Regions from separate parts of the Homo sapiens genome. Here all the other regions are linked to region 4. Evidence: promoter capture Hi-C in 16 types of primary human blood cells and fetal thymus (Javierre and others, 2016). All regions are on one chromosome and are shown on one strand. Each heading gives the region's core, a stretch centred on a gene start or on the middle of the fragment in contact. The rest is flanking DNA. Distances are from core to core; before and after follow the strand shown.

Region 1 (2,749 bases), core at 161-2,660, 190 kb before region 4:
TTGGGAGGCCGAGGTGGGCGGATCACAAGGTCAGGAGATCAAGACCATCCTGGCTAACATGGTGAAACCCCGTCTCTACTAAAAATACAAAAAATTAGCTGGGCGTGGTGGTGGGCACCTGTAGTCCCAGCTACTCGGGAGGCTGAGGCAGGAGAATGGCATGAACCCAGGAGGCGGAGCTTGCAGTGAGCCGAGATCACGCCACTGCAGTCCGGCCTGGGCAAAAGGCAAGACTCTGTCTCAAAAAAAAATAAAAAAATAAAATAAAATAAATAATAATAATAATAATAAAAACCTAGCAAAAAATCTTCAATGCCCATCAACAAGAGACTGAATAAACTAAATCCATAACTACAGTGGAATATTACACAGCTGTTTGAATGAATGAACTGTGGTGACATGCAACAACATGCGTGAATCTTAACAAATACCACTAAGTGCAAAAATTATTGCGTGCCACGGGATATTTTTTATTAAATTAAAAACTTTAAAAATATGTGTATTTAGGAACTCTTATAGATGCAATAACACTATATAAAAAGGAAAGCAAGGGAGTGAGGATTCAGGTTGATGGCTGCCTGGCATGGGAGGTGTTAGGACATGGCATGGGTAGGGGCCAAATGTGGTAGGTTTATGGGTGCTTTTAATACTTTAAACAAATGGTTAGCTAGCTAGCCAGGCAGCAAAGTAGACAGCTCTGACTGCTATGTGAAGAATGGATCAAAGGAGTAGAAGCTGGAGCAGGATGACCAGTTAGGAAGATGTTTAGTATCCAGATGAAGGAGGGTGAGGCATTGTTCTCCAGTGGTGGCCATTGAGATGGAGAGTAATGAACAGAATCAGAATCTATTCCGGAGATAATGGAGAACTTGCTCTGATGACTTAGATGTGGGAGGCAAGGAATATTCTATTGTACAAATCTTCCATAATTTAACAGTCTGCTCTTATGGTACATCTAAGTTGTTTACAATATTTTTTGCTCCAGTAAAGGTCTAAAATGAACATCCTTGTACCTTAATCTTCAAACAAATTCAATTAATGTCTTTCTTTTTTATGGTGTGAGACCGGGGCCAATTTTATTATATTTAAGACTGTTTGTTTTAGAGCAGTGTTAGGCTCACAGTCAAATTGAAAGGAAGGTACAGAGATTTCCCATATGGCCTCTGCCCTCATACATGTTCAGGCTCCCAATTACAATATCCCCCACGAGAGTGGTACATACATTACAACAGATAAACCTACATTGACACATCATTATCACCCAAAGTCTATACCTTACATTAGGGTTCACTCTTGGTGGTGTACATTCTATGGGTTTGGACATGTGTATAAGGACATACATTCGCTATAGTATCATATAGTATTTTCACTGCCCTGAAAATCCTCTGTGCTCCATCTATTCATCCTTCCCTTGCCCCAACCTCTGGCAACTACTGATCCTTTTACTCTCTCCATAGTTTTGCCTTTTCCAGAATGTGATACAGTTGGAATCATATAATACGTAACCTTTTCAATTGGCTTCTTTCCTTTAGCAATATGGATTTAAGGTTCCTCCAGATCTTTTCATGGCTTGATAGCTTTTTTCTTTTTAGCACTGAATATTTCATTTACTGGTTTACCACAGTTTATTCATTCCTCTAATGAAGGCCAACTCGGTTGCTTTCAAGTTTTGGCAATTATAGAAGATGATATGAACATCTGTGTGCATGTTTTTGTATGGACGTAAGTTTTCAACTCCTTTGGGTAAATACCAGAGAGCTCAATTGCTGGATTATATGGTAAGAGTATGTTTAGTTTTGTAAGAAACTGTCAAACTATCTTCCAAAGTGGCTGTGCCCTTTTGCATTCCCACCAGCAATGAACCAGAATTCCTGTTGCTCCACATCCTCACCAGCATTTGGTGTTGTCATGTTCTGGACTTTGGCCATTCTAATAGATATGTATCTTGAATTAGTTTCTGAAAATCAACCTGCAGAGGCTGGGCGTGGTGGCTCACGCCTGTAATCCCAGCACTTTGGGAGGCCGAGGCAGGCGGATCACAAGGTCAGGAGATCAAGACCATCCTGTCTAACACGGTGAAACCCCATCTCTACTGAAAATACAAAAAATTAGCCAGGCATGGCGGTGTGCGCCTATAGTCCCAGCTACTCGGGAGGCTGAGGCAGGAGGATGGCGTGAACCCGGGAGGTGGAGCTTGCAGTGAGCCGAGATCGCACTACTGCACTCCAGCCTGGGCAACAGAGTGAGACTCTCGTCTCAAAAAAAAAAAAAAAAAAACAACCTGCAGAAATGAAATTCTTATATCAAAGGATATGTGCATTTAATAAGGCTTTTGATACATATTACCAAGTTAGCTTCCTGAAATGAAAGATGGCACCACTTTAGCTCCCACTGGTATGAGGCAACATCCACCTGTCCTTTTCTACATTCAAAGCTCTGTATTCAGGGACAGTCTCATTGGCAGTGGAAGATAGGTAGATCTGTCTAGTGAATTTCTCCTGGACAGATGTGTGGTTACTCAGCAGTCTCTGGCTGGGATCGTCCCAGTTAGAGCATTTACTTCCCTGCTTCCTGCAGTGGGCATCCTTAGAGCACTGGACCCCTGCCTTGGGTCCTTTCCTGGAGCATGAGTCAGGATGTGAGGTGGCATAATATCCTTTTTTTTTTTTTTTTTTTTTTTTTGAGACAGAGTCTTGCTCTGTCACCCAGGCTGGAGCGCAGTGGCGCGATCTCAGCTCACTGCAACTTC
Region 2 (2,704 bases), core at 127-2,626, 170 kb before region 4:
AGCATGCAGTCCTGTTCTCCATTTATTTATTTATTTATTTATTTATTTATTTATTTATTTTTATGTTTTATTTTTTGGGACAGAGTCTAGCTCTGTTGCCCAGGCTGGAGTGCAGTGGTGCGATCTCAGCTCACTGCAACCTCTGCCTCCCAGATTCAAGGGATTCTCCTGCCTCAGCCTCCTGAGTAGCTGGGACTACAGGCGCCCGCCACCACGCCTGGCTAATTTTTGTATTTTCAATAGAGATGGGGTTTCACCATGTTGGCCAGAATGGTCTCGATCTCCCACCCGCCTCGGCCTCCCAGAGTGCTAGGATTACAGGCAAGAGCCATTGTGCCCGGCCCTGTTCTCCTTTCATAGGTAAGAAAATCAAGACCCAAGGTTAAAGGAGTCTTGAGGGCTCTGACTAGAGCCCAGGCATTCTACATCTCTGATGAGGCCTTGCATCTGAGGGATCTTCAGTTACCAGCCTCTCCTTAGAAGTGTCTCTGCTTTTCTTCCCACCTGGCCACCAACTGCCCTCTCGTGGGCCCACCTTGTGCACGGCAGCAGCGTCTTCATCAGCTTTTGTTGTCTGGTACATTTGGCCACCTGTGGCCTTTGTTGGGCTGCAGGATGAGGAAAGAGGAAAAGGACACTTGTCCTTCAGTACGGAGACTCTGTTGCGGAGGAGGTATGTGTGTCCTGAGAATGTCTGAGTGGGTTTTCTATTCCTCTGCCCAAGAGGAGTACTTGTTGGACATCTACCTTGTACCCAGGGCTGAGTGGGATACAAGGTAATAGTCCCTGGAGTGAAGGTCCTTATAATCTAGGCATGAGGTTGACTCTAAATAGCTTTCTTGAATCCCATGATCCCTGGCCCCAGCACCGGCCATTGCCTCCTCTTCCTTTCCAGCCACTCCCGTTGACCCTATCCCCGTGGGCTATGCAGTGTGGAGACTCCTCACATGTGATTCCCACATGACTGGCATCTCAGGTCTCCTGCAATCCCCTGGGTGTTATATCTCGGAGCAAGGGGCAAATAAGTTCTATTGATGTGGAGCCACTGGGGGAGGCTGGGGGCCTGCATGACCCCTGTTTCCTCCCAGGCCTTTTTTTGAGCAGTTCCTGTAAGCTCCTTCCCATCCATTAGAGATAGGAGAAGCCTCACTAGCCTTCTGCATGAGCAGGTATGCTCTGAGCTTGCTTTTCTGTGCACTTAGGGAAGCTTCTAAATCACAAGCTTAGATTCTTTTACCTTTCTGTTTGTAGCCCATCAGCAGCTCACCACACAGTTTCCCAGGCCCTCCAGGTCCTCCTGCTTGCATTTCCAACTCTCTCTCTCAGCCTCTCCTCATCACCCCTGACCATGCCAAACTTCCCTTTTCTCCTTTTTTAAGTCGCATATGCTCTCATTTCTAAACTCTTGCATATACTAACCTCTTTTTGTGAAATCTTCTTTTCTTCCCTCTTTCCTCCTCCAGTCTTTGCTGCTAGTTCACACCACCCCTAAGAGCTCATCTTAGAATGTCCCTCCTCTGGGAAAGCTTCCCAGCTCCCAAGAGTAGGGTGGGTCCTCTGATCTTACCTCTGATGGTGCTTGTCAGACTGAATTGTAGTCATTTGTTTCTTAATATCCCTTCCTTACCAAAGTCATACCTCCGTAAGGGAAGGGGCCAGTGGTTTTGTTTATTTGTTTCGTGGAGGGATCCTCACATTCCAGTGCAGTACCTGTCGCGTAAGTGCTCAGATTAGACTTGTACAATGTGGTATGAATGCATGGGTGGGAGAGCTGGTGGGCCTTCCTTGAAGAACTTCCTGCCATCTCTGATCTGGATTCTCTGGGTGTTTAGGTGCATCACTCCTGTGTTTCGTTGGCAATGGAGCATAGTGCACCGAGGTTCTCTGGACAGAGACCATTCATTGGTTCAGTAAATATTACTGAGTCCCTGCTATGTGCCAGGCACCACACTGACACTGGGGATACCATAGTAAATAAGCGAGACATGGTCCCTAAACTCATGGGGCTTATAGCCTAGTGGAGGAAACAAATAATAAGTAAGCAAATATAAAAAAAAAATTAGAAATTGTGAAAAGTCCTAGGAAGAAAATGAATAGGCTGATATAGGGCAATATGAGAGACTGGTAGGAGGGACCTTGCCCACAATCCCCTCTCCCCCTGGCTAGCACACCTCTCCCTCTGCAAAGGCTGTGAGCCCCACATCCATACCTCTGCTGGCTTTACCTCACAGTCACATCCTGACCTTGGCAAGAGTTGTACTAGTGAGCACTCCTGACAGCTCTTCCTTTTAGCACTGTCTGCAATTGGGGTGACGGTCTCTACCAGACTGGGAAGGAGATATATCTTGGCAGAAAGTATAGCCCTGTGCTTTGCTGCTCATAGGAAGGCCTTCAGGAGGGCCAGGATTCATCAGCAGAAGTGTCAGAGTCCCTCTGTCCAGGGGCCTGATTGGGTGAATATTCAGGCCCTGTTATACATTGGAGCATCAGCAGCACTGCTGTGTGGTGGCATGAAAGCCACGGCCTCCTGCTGGCAGCTGGGGCTGCTGCTGCCATCCCTGTTCAGGAGGACTGCGTCGCTCTGCTGTTTGGCCTGGTCTGGGGCTGGGGAATGCCTTGCCTCAAGCTCTGTTGGCAATTGTGCTGGTTTGGGCTGCTTTCTCTGAGCAGCTGTTTGCCTTCTTGGAAAACCTGAGGCTTTGGT
Region 3 (2,845 bases), core at 241-2,740, 210 kb before region 4:
AAGGCCCACTCTTGAAAAGCTGTCTGCTTAGCTCTGGGTAAGAAGAGATCTGGTTCTTAGATTTAGGACACTGACTCTGAGGCCTCTTTCAACTGGAGGCAAGACAGTGAGAGATTCCATGTGTCCAGCTCTGCAGCAGCAGCAGAGGCAGCCACAATCTGAGATGCTGCTGATTTCTTCTGTGGGGCTTTGAAAAGCAATGAATCTTCACAGTATGCTGAGCTTCTACTTTATTGATGATGCAGCTCAGGGAAGTTTGTGGTGCCATTTTGCCAGGATCTTTTAGGGAAAGCATAGGATCAGATTGGAGGATGAGTGCTAAATGACTCCTAAGTGCCAGAAATAATGGTTACTGAATATGCACTAGTGCTATGTCATTGTTTTGCTGTGTAATTGTTTTGTCTCTCACTCAGTCCTTGCAACAACCCTGGGAGGTTGGTTCTATTGCTATTATCCCATTTTTCATATGGGGAACTGAGACACAGAGAGGTTAAGTAACTTGCTCAAGACCACACAGTAAGTAGCAGAGACATGCCTGTCTGATTTCTGAGCCTATATCCTAACCATAGTACTATACCTCCTTGTTTCATGCATTTATTTTTTTGAACTCACCAGTTGAGTCTCTGGTCATATCATTTGTCAGTTATTTCTCCCCGACTGAGAGGGATAAATAAGCATTCTCTTATATTCTAGGTTTTAAGTTGGCATTTAATGCTGACCCGTCTGGAATTCACTGTAGTGTATATACATTTCATTTGGTTTTAGTTTTTCTCTTTTGGTCACAAGCCAAAGTTAGAATCTCCCAAGCTAGCTCAGGTAAAGATGAGCTCACTGTAGGGAAACTTGGTTTAGTAAGGAGTAAGGGATCTCTAAGCAATCCCAGAAGTGGGCCTATAATAGGACTAGACCTTAGAGAGAGTAGGTCAGACCCAAATGACCATTACCTAGTTCAGTTTCTGGCACATAATAGGTGCTCAATAAATATTTGTTGAATAAATGCAGCAAACAGTTGTGTGGTCAGCTATCCAGTAAAAGGGGCCAGCGATAGCCCTAGTGGAACAAGAGCCCTTTTGTTTGGCTGAAATAAGGTTTACTAGGCTACTCGAAGGATGTGGTAGTAGCAACACTAGAGCTTCACATCTGCTGTGGAATAGATCTTTGATTTCCCCATGCATCTTCTGCATAGACTCTGCACTTACCCTCAGTGGCTGCAGCAAAATGGGACATGTAGATGTCAGGCTGCCCATGGGAACACATTCCTGTGTGGTGCTCCCCACATCTGTTCTCATGTGAAATGACACTAGAGAGTGACAGCTTCCTACTATAGGACTGGCGGCTGTGGGTCTCACAGTATCAGACTTCCTGGTGACTGAGATGCTGTAAGGAATAGAGAGAATGGAAGATCCGGGTTCAGGTATCGGCTTCGCCATAGCTGTGTGAGTTGGGCCTGATCCTTGGCTTCCCTGGGACTTGGTTTCCTGATCTGTTAAGGGACAAGGTTTGGGCCAAGGTTCTTTCCAGCACTTGAGTCCTATGAGTTGCTAAATTGGGCCCAAGGTCACAGGGAAAATGAAATGCTGGCATAATATCTGTCTTCCCTTGAAACCCCTGGATAAGTCCAAGCAAGTGACCCTCTTTGATGGAAGAGAGTTTCCAAAAGCAGAAAGAATCTTTCTCAGGGGTTGGGTGGAGCTCTTCCTTTTTCTCCTACCCTAAAGATACTTGGAAGTGAAGTCTAAAATTGTCACCCAGGACTAGTAGGGTGCTGGAGGTGAAGATGCAGAAGGAGAATGTACAGACAGGCCTCCGGCTCCTGAGTCCAGCTGGTGTTGCCTGTCGGTACACACTCCCCACCTGCCACCTCCAGCTCCTGGCTGATCTCCTCTTTCTGAGCTCTTGATCCTAAGCTGTGTTCTGCTTGTGTCTGTTATGGCTCTGGAGTGAAATGAGCAATTTCTTTTTCTCCAATTGGAAGCTGAAGGCTGCTTAATATAAGTAATAAAGTCCTCAATGCTTTATCCCCTGGGGTCTGTTAACTGCCTGTTTGAAGCAGAAGGCACTACAGCTCGCACAGGATGTGAAGCAGATTGGAGGTTCCTGTATCTTTGAGCCACCTGAGCTTTTTCAAAGTCCAGTTTCCTTCTCCTAGAGCAGAGTTACTCAACAATGGCACTATTAGCATTTTGAGCCAAATGATTCTTTGTTATGGGGTACTATCTTGGGCATTGTAGGATATTTAGTAGCATCCTTGGCCCCTCCACTAGATGCCAGTAGCATCCACCTTCCCCCGTTACCACAAACAAAAATGTCTCTAAACATGGAAATCGTCCCTGTGGGGCAAAATCACCCCAGTTAAGGACCACTATTCTAGAGTTACCACAGCACACATGTAGGCAGCTTGTGTGATGAACTAGGCTTTTGAGAACCATGGTCTTTATTTTTGATTTCACTTCTGACTCACGGAAGACCCTAGGGCAGGTTAATGAGCCTCTCTATAATGGGGACTATGAATTTTCCTTGTTTGAAAAGTAACATGTTTGTTGGAGAAAATATAGAAGAAACAGAGAAGTATAAAAGAAGAAAAATTTAAAGGATCTGTTGGCATCTCAACCACCTAGAGATAATAAGTTTTAAGGTGTATTTTCTTCTTGCATCTTTTCCTGGCATGTCTCTCTTCTCTTCCACCATACTCACACACCAAATCAGGATCATATCTTAATACACGGCAAACCGTTCTTAGAAAATATGATTTTTAATGGATGCATATTAGACAATCTTATGAATGCTCCATATTTATTTAATAACTTCCAGTTGTAGAACATTATTATAACCAATTTTCAGACTA
Region 4 (3,020 bases), core at 428-2,927:
CTCTGGGGGCATCCCTGGGCTGCAGGGTGCAATTCACCCAAGCATTGAGACTTCAACCTTGCAAGAGGCACCAGTGAGGGAGGCCTTCCAAGGACAACCCAGTCATCCTCCTTTAGCTGGGCCACACCCACCTACTCACCCCACTGCGTGGGAATCTTTTGGGGGCTCTGGCCAAACCCTAGGGACCTGCTATGTTTCCACCAGGACCAAACTTTGCAGTAGCCCCACTCAAAAGCCCCTGTTCCCTGCTTCCCGCATATATTGGGGAAAGGGGCTGCTGGGAGGACAGCAGGCACATTTTACTGATTCGGAGATCCCAGGCCCCAGAACTTGTAGCTTCCCTGGGAGACAGGTTCCTAAAGTCCTGGGGAGAGGGTGGAAGAATGAAAGAACGACTGCAACTGCCCTGGGCCACGGGTTGGGTTTGGAGGCAGTCCCAGCCCAGTGAACCCCCCCACCCCCAACCACTATTAAGCAGCTCTTGTTTGTAGGATCTAGAAAAAGGAACTGGGGAACCCAGGAAAGTCCAAACCCAGGCTGCCCACCTGCCCTGGCCAAATCCTGAGCCCTCTCGCTGATCCCCATCAAATTCAGCCTGGCTTATCCCCAGGCTGCCAGGAGTCTTAGGCCCTCTTCCATTGTGACTGCTGCTTCTGCTCCCTGTTCTCTTCCTGGCCCCCCCAAGATGGCCCCAAGACAAAGGGGTGGGCTTGAGACAGTGGCCCCCTGGGCCTATGCAAAAACAATGCCCCCAGTGATCATTCCGGGGAGTCCCTGCATCCTCTAGGAACAGCTGAATACCTCCTCCTCCGAGGGGGCCCGCTGGGCAGGGTTGTCCCCAGTCTGGACTCCCTCTGCACCCAGCCCCAGCAGCCCGCTCCTGGGACCCCTCCCTCCCGCTGCCGCCTCGGCCATTATGTGCCTCCTCAGCCCTGACTGCCACGCCCCCGTGCGAGCCCCCGCTCTAGCTGCAGAGCCGGGGAGGCCTGGCCGCCAAGCAGGGCTGTCAAAGTTGGGAAACTGGAAACAGAAATAAATCCTCAAAGCTGCAGCCTCGTGAAGGTGGCTGCCGGCAGGCCCCGGTACCCAATGCCCCGATCCCCGACCACCAGGCTGCCACTGGCACCCCCCACGCACACGCGTACCCCCAGATTATACAAAAGCGGGGAGAGGGTAGTGGGTGGCGGAGCCGGGAGACAATCGGCCCGGCAGCCCCCACCGTCCCTCAGGCTGGGCTCGGGCTTTCCCGCGGCGCCCCCTCTCCCCGGCCCAGACCCGGCCAGCCCGGGCTTCCTCTCTCGGCCCCATCTCCATGACAACCGTATCCTTCGGATGCTCCAGACGCCGCGGAATTGATCTGGAAATGTAGCTTTGTTAGCGGACCCGGGTGGGCACCGAGGGCGAGGGCGACGCCCCCCACCCGCACGCGGCCCTCTCCCCGGCCCGTCCCGCCCCGGCCTGGCCGCCAGCGGGGAGGGGCGGGTCCCGGAGCCCCGCGGCCCCACTCACCGCTGCTGGTCCCCGCCGCGGGTCCGGCCTCTCACGGCGGGGCCATCGGAGGCCGCCGGGCTGCCTGTCCCGCCCCGCCGCCGCCGGTCGGAGCTGCCCGCGCCCGCCCGCGTCCCTTCAGGTGCCGGAGCCGCGATGTGGAGAGGCTGAGCGAGGGGGACGGACGGCAGGAGGGAGGGAGCGGAGCCGTGAGCTGGAGGAGGAGGAGGAGGGAGGAGCGGGAAGGGCGGGGAAGGGCGGGGGCACTGCGGGCGCGCGAGCGGCGGGCGCGGAGCCCGGAGGGAAGCGCGGCCCCCAGCCCTGTCCGCTTGCAGCGCAGCGCTCGCCCCGGGACCCCGAGCGTGCCGGGGAGAGCGCGGCCCACCTTGTCCCCCTCTGCCCCGCGCGGGCCCTTTAAGAAAGGGGGGGAGGGGAGCGCCCGGGGTTCTGCCCCCTCCTAGCCACGCTGGGCCCCTGCCGTCCTCGAACCCTCGGGCAGACCCAACCACCTCCGCCCTCCAGGCAGGACCCACCGGTCTAGAACCTGAGCTCTCGGGACCCGCCAGGCCCTGGAGGTGAAGGAGGGGGCGGGTCCTGGCCCTCCTCCCGCGGTCTGTTCAGGGAGTGACCCCTGCCCCCAGCCCCCCGACACACACGCCAGCCCCCGGGAGACGCCGCCAAGGGAGGAGCAGGGAGTGCGGGGGGCCAAGGTGAAGAATCTCAGAGAGGGAGACTGAGCCCCTGAGACCTAGAGTCACACGGGACGGGACGGAGACCTGGGCTGTGGGGTGAGAAGGAGCCTCGGGACAGAGTGGGATGGGAGGAGGCAGGAGAGAGGAGAAAGAGACAAAGGAGAAAGAACCTGAGGGAGGCGGGAGGTGAGGGGTGGGTCCAACCAAGAATCCACATCCCTGTGCCAGGTCAAGGGGAAGCCTCCCTGGGCAGATATAAGGAGACAGAGAGAGACAGAGGGTGCCCTGGGCAGAGGAAACCATCTCCCAAGGCACCTGTCCCACGGTGTCTCCCCAAGGGCAAGTCAAGGCCCTGAAGCCGCCCCCCTCAGCCCAGGACTCTAACTGAAGAAGAGGGTTGACTGGCTGTACCTGGGCTAGACATTAAGAACTTCCTGGCTGTGAGGCACCTGCAGAGTAAGAGTCCGCCTCTCAGAGAGGCATTAAAGGGCCCCCACCCACAGGGATCTAAGGAGGGCGTGGGGAGCAGGCCCAGTGCCTGGGAGAAGGGAAATCAGGATAGAGTCAGGCCCTGCCACTGGAGGCCACTTTCTACCCCTCTCCCCTACTCCAGCCCCTGGGGGGTTCACCACACCCAGTTGCTTCCATCTCCAGACCTCAGCAGATGATCCACACTCTGCCCGGTGGGGCCTTGATCCTGCTGTGCTCAGTGAACTCCTACTGAACCCTCAAATTCCTCCTTAAATGCCCCTTCCTTCATGAAGTCTTCTCTGACCTTCTTTCCACCCATGAACACACAAACATGGACTCTTCTTAGGGAGCAGGAAGAGGATTTGCTGA

Evidence for each region. Contacts are between HindIII fragments. The CHiCAGO score rates a contact against its expected background, and 5 or more counts as called.
Region 1: a contact is called between a fragment that was not itself captured here and the fragment with the promoter of PSD2 in region 4, in 2 of 17 cell types (M1 macrophages and M2 macrophages). The highest score is 7.7, in M1 macrophages.
Region 2: a fragment that was not itself captured here is called in contact with the fragment with the promoter of PSD2 in region 4 in 16 of 17 cell types (M1 macrophages, M2 macrophages, M0 macrophages and 13 more); the score reaches 32.0 in M1 macrophages.
Region 3: a fragment that was not itself captured here is called in contact with the fragment with the promoter of PSD2 in region 4 in 1 of 17 cell types (M2 macrophages); the score reaches 6.1 in M2 macrophages.

The regions. Positions count from the first base shown.
Region 1 is chr5:139,987,301-139,990,049 of GRCh38, reverse strand. The region is part of intron 1 of NRG2 (neuregulin 2); the gene reads left to right. Among named protein-coding and RNA genes, the nearest start is that of NRG2, 55 kb to the left of the region's middle. The HindIII fragment of the contact is 9,540 bases long and covers 1-2,749 here.
Region 2 is chr5:139,965,331-139,968,034 of GRCh38, reverse strand. All of the region lies in intron 1 of NRG2 (neuregulin 2), which reads left to right. Among named protein-coding and RNA genes, the nearest start is that of NRG2, 77 kb to the left of the region's middle. The HindIII fragment of the contact is 304 bases long and covers 1,225-1,528 here.
Region 3 is chr5:140,006,519-140,009,363 of GRCh38, reverse strand. All of the region lies in intron 1 of NRG2 (neuregulin 2), which reads left to right. Among named protein-coding and RNA genes, the nearest start is that of NRG2, 35 kb to the left of the region's middle. The HindIII fragment of the contact is 3,147 bases long and covers 1-2,845 here.
Region 4 is chr5:139,794,465-139,797,484 of GRCh38, reverse strand. PSD2 (pleckstrin and Sec7 domain containing 2) reads right to left here and starts at 1,677. Exons shown (of 15, transcript NM_032289.4): 1 at 1,510-1,677. RefSeq lists a silencer at 1,959-2,158. The HindIII fragment of the contact is 8,840 bases long and covers 1-3,020 here.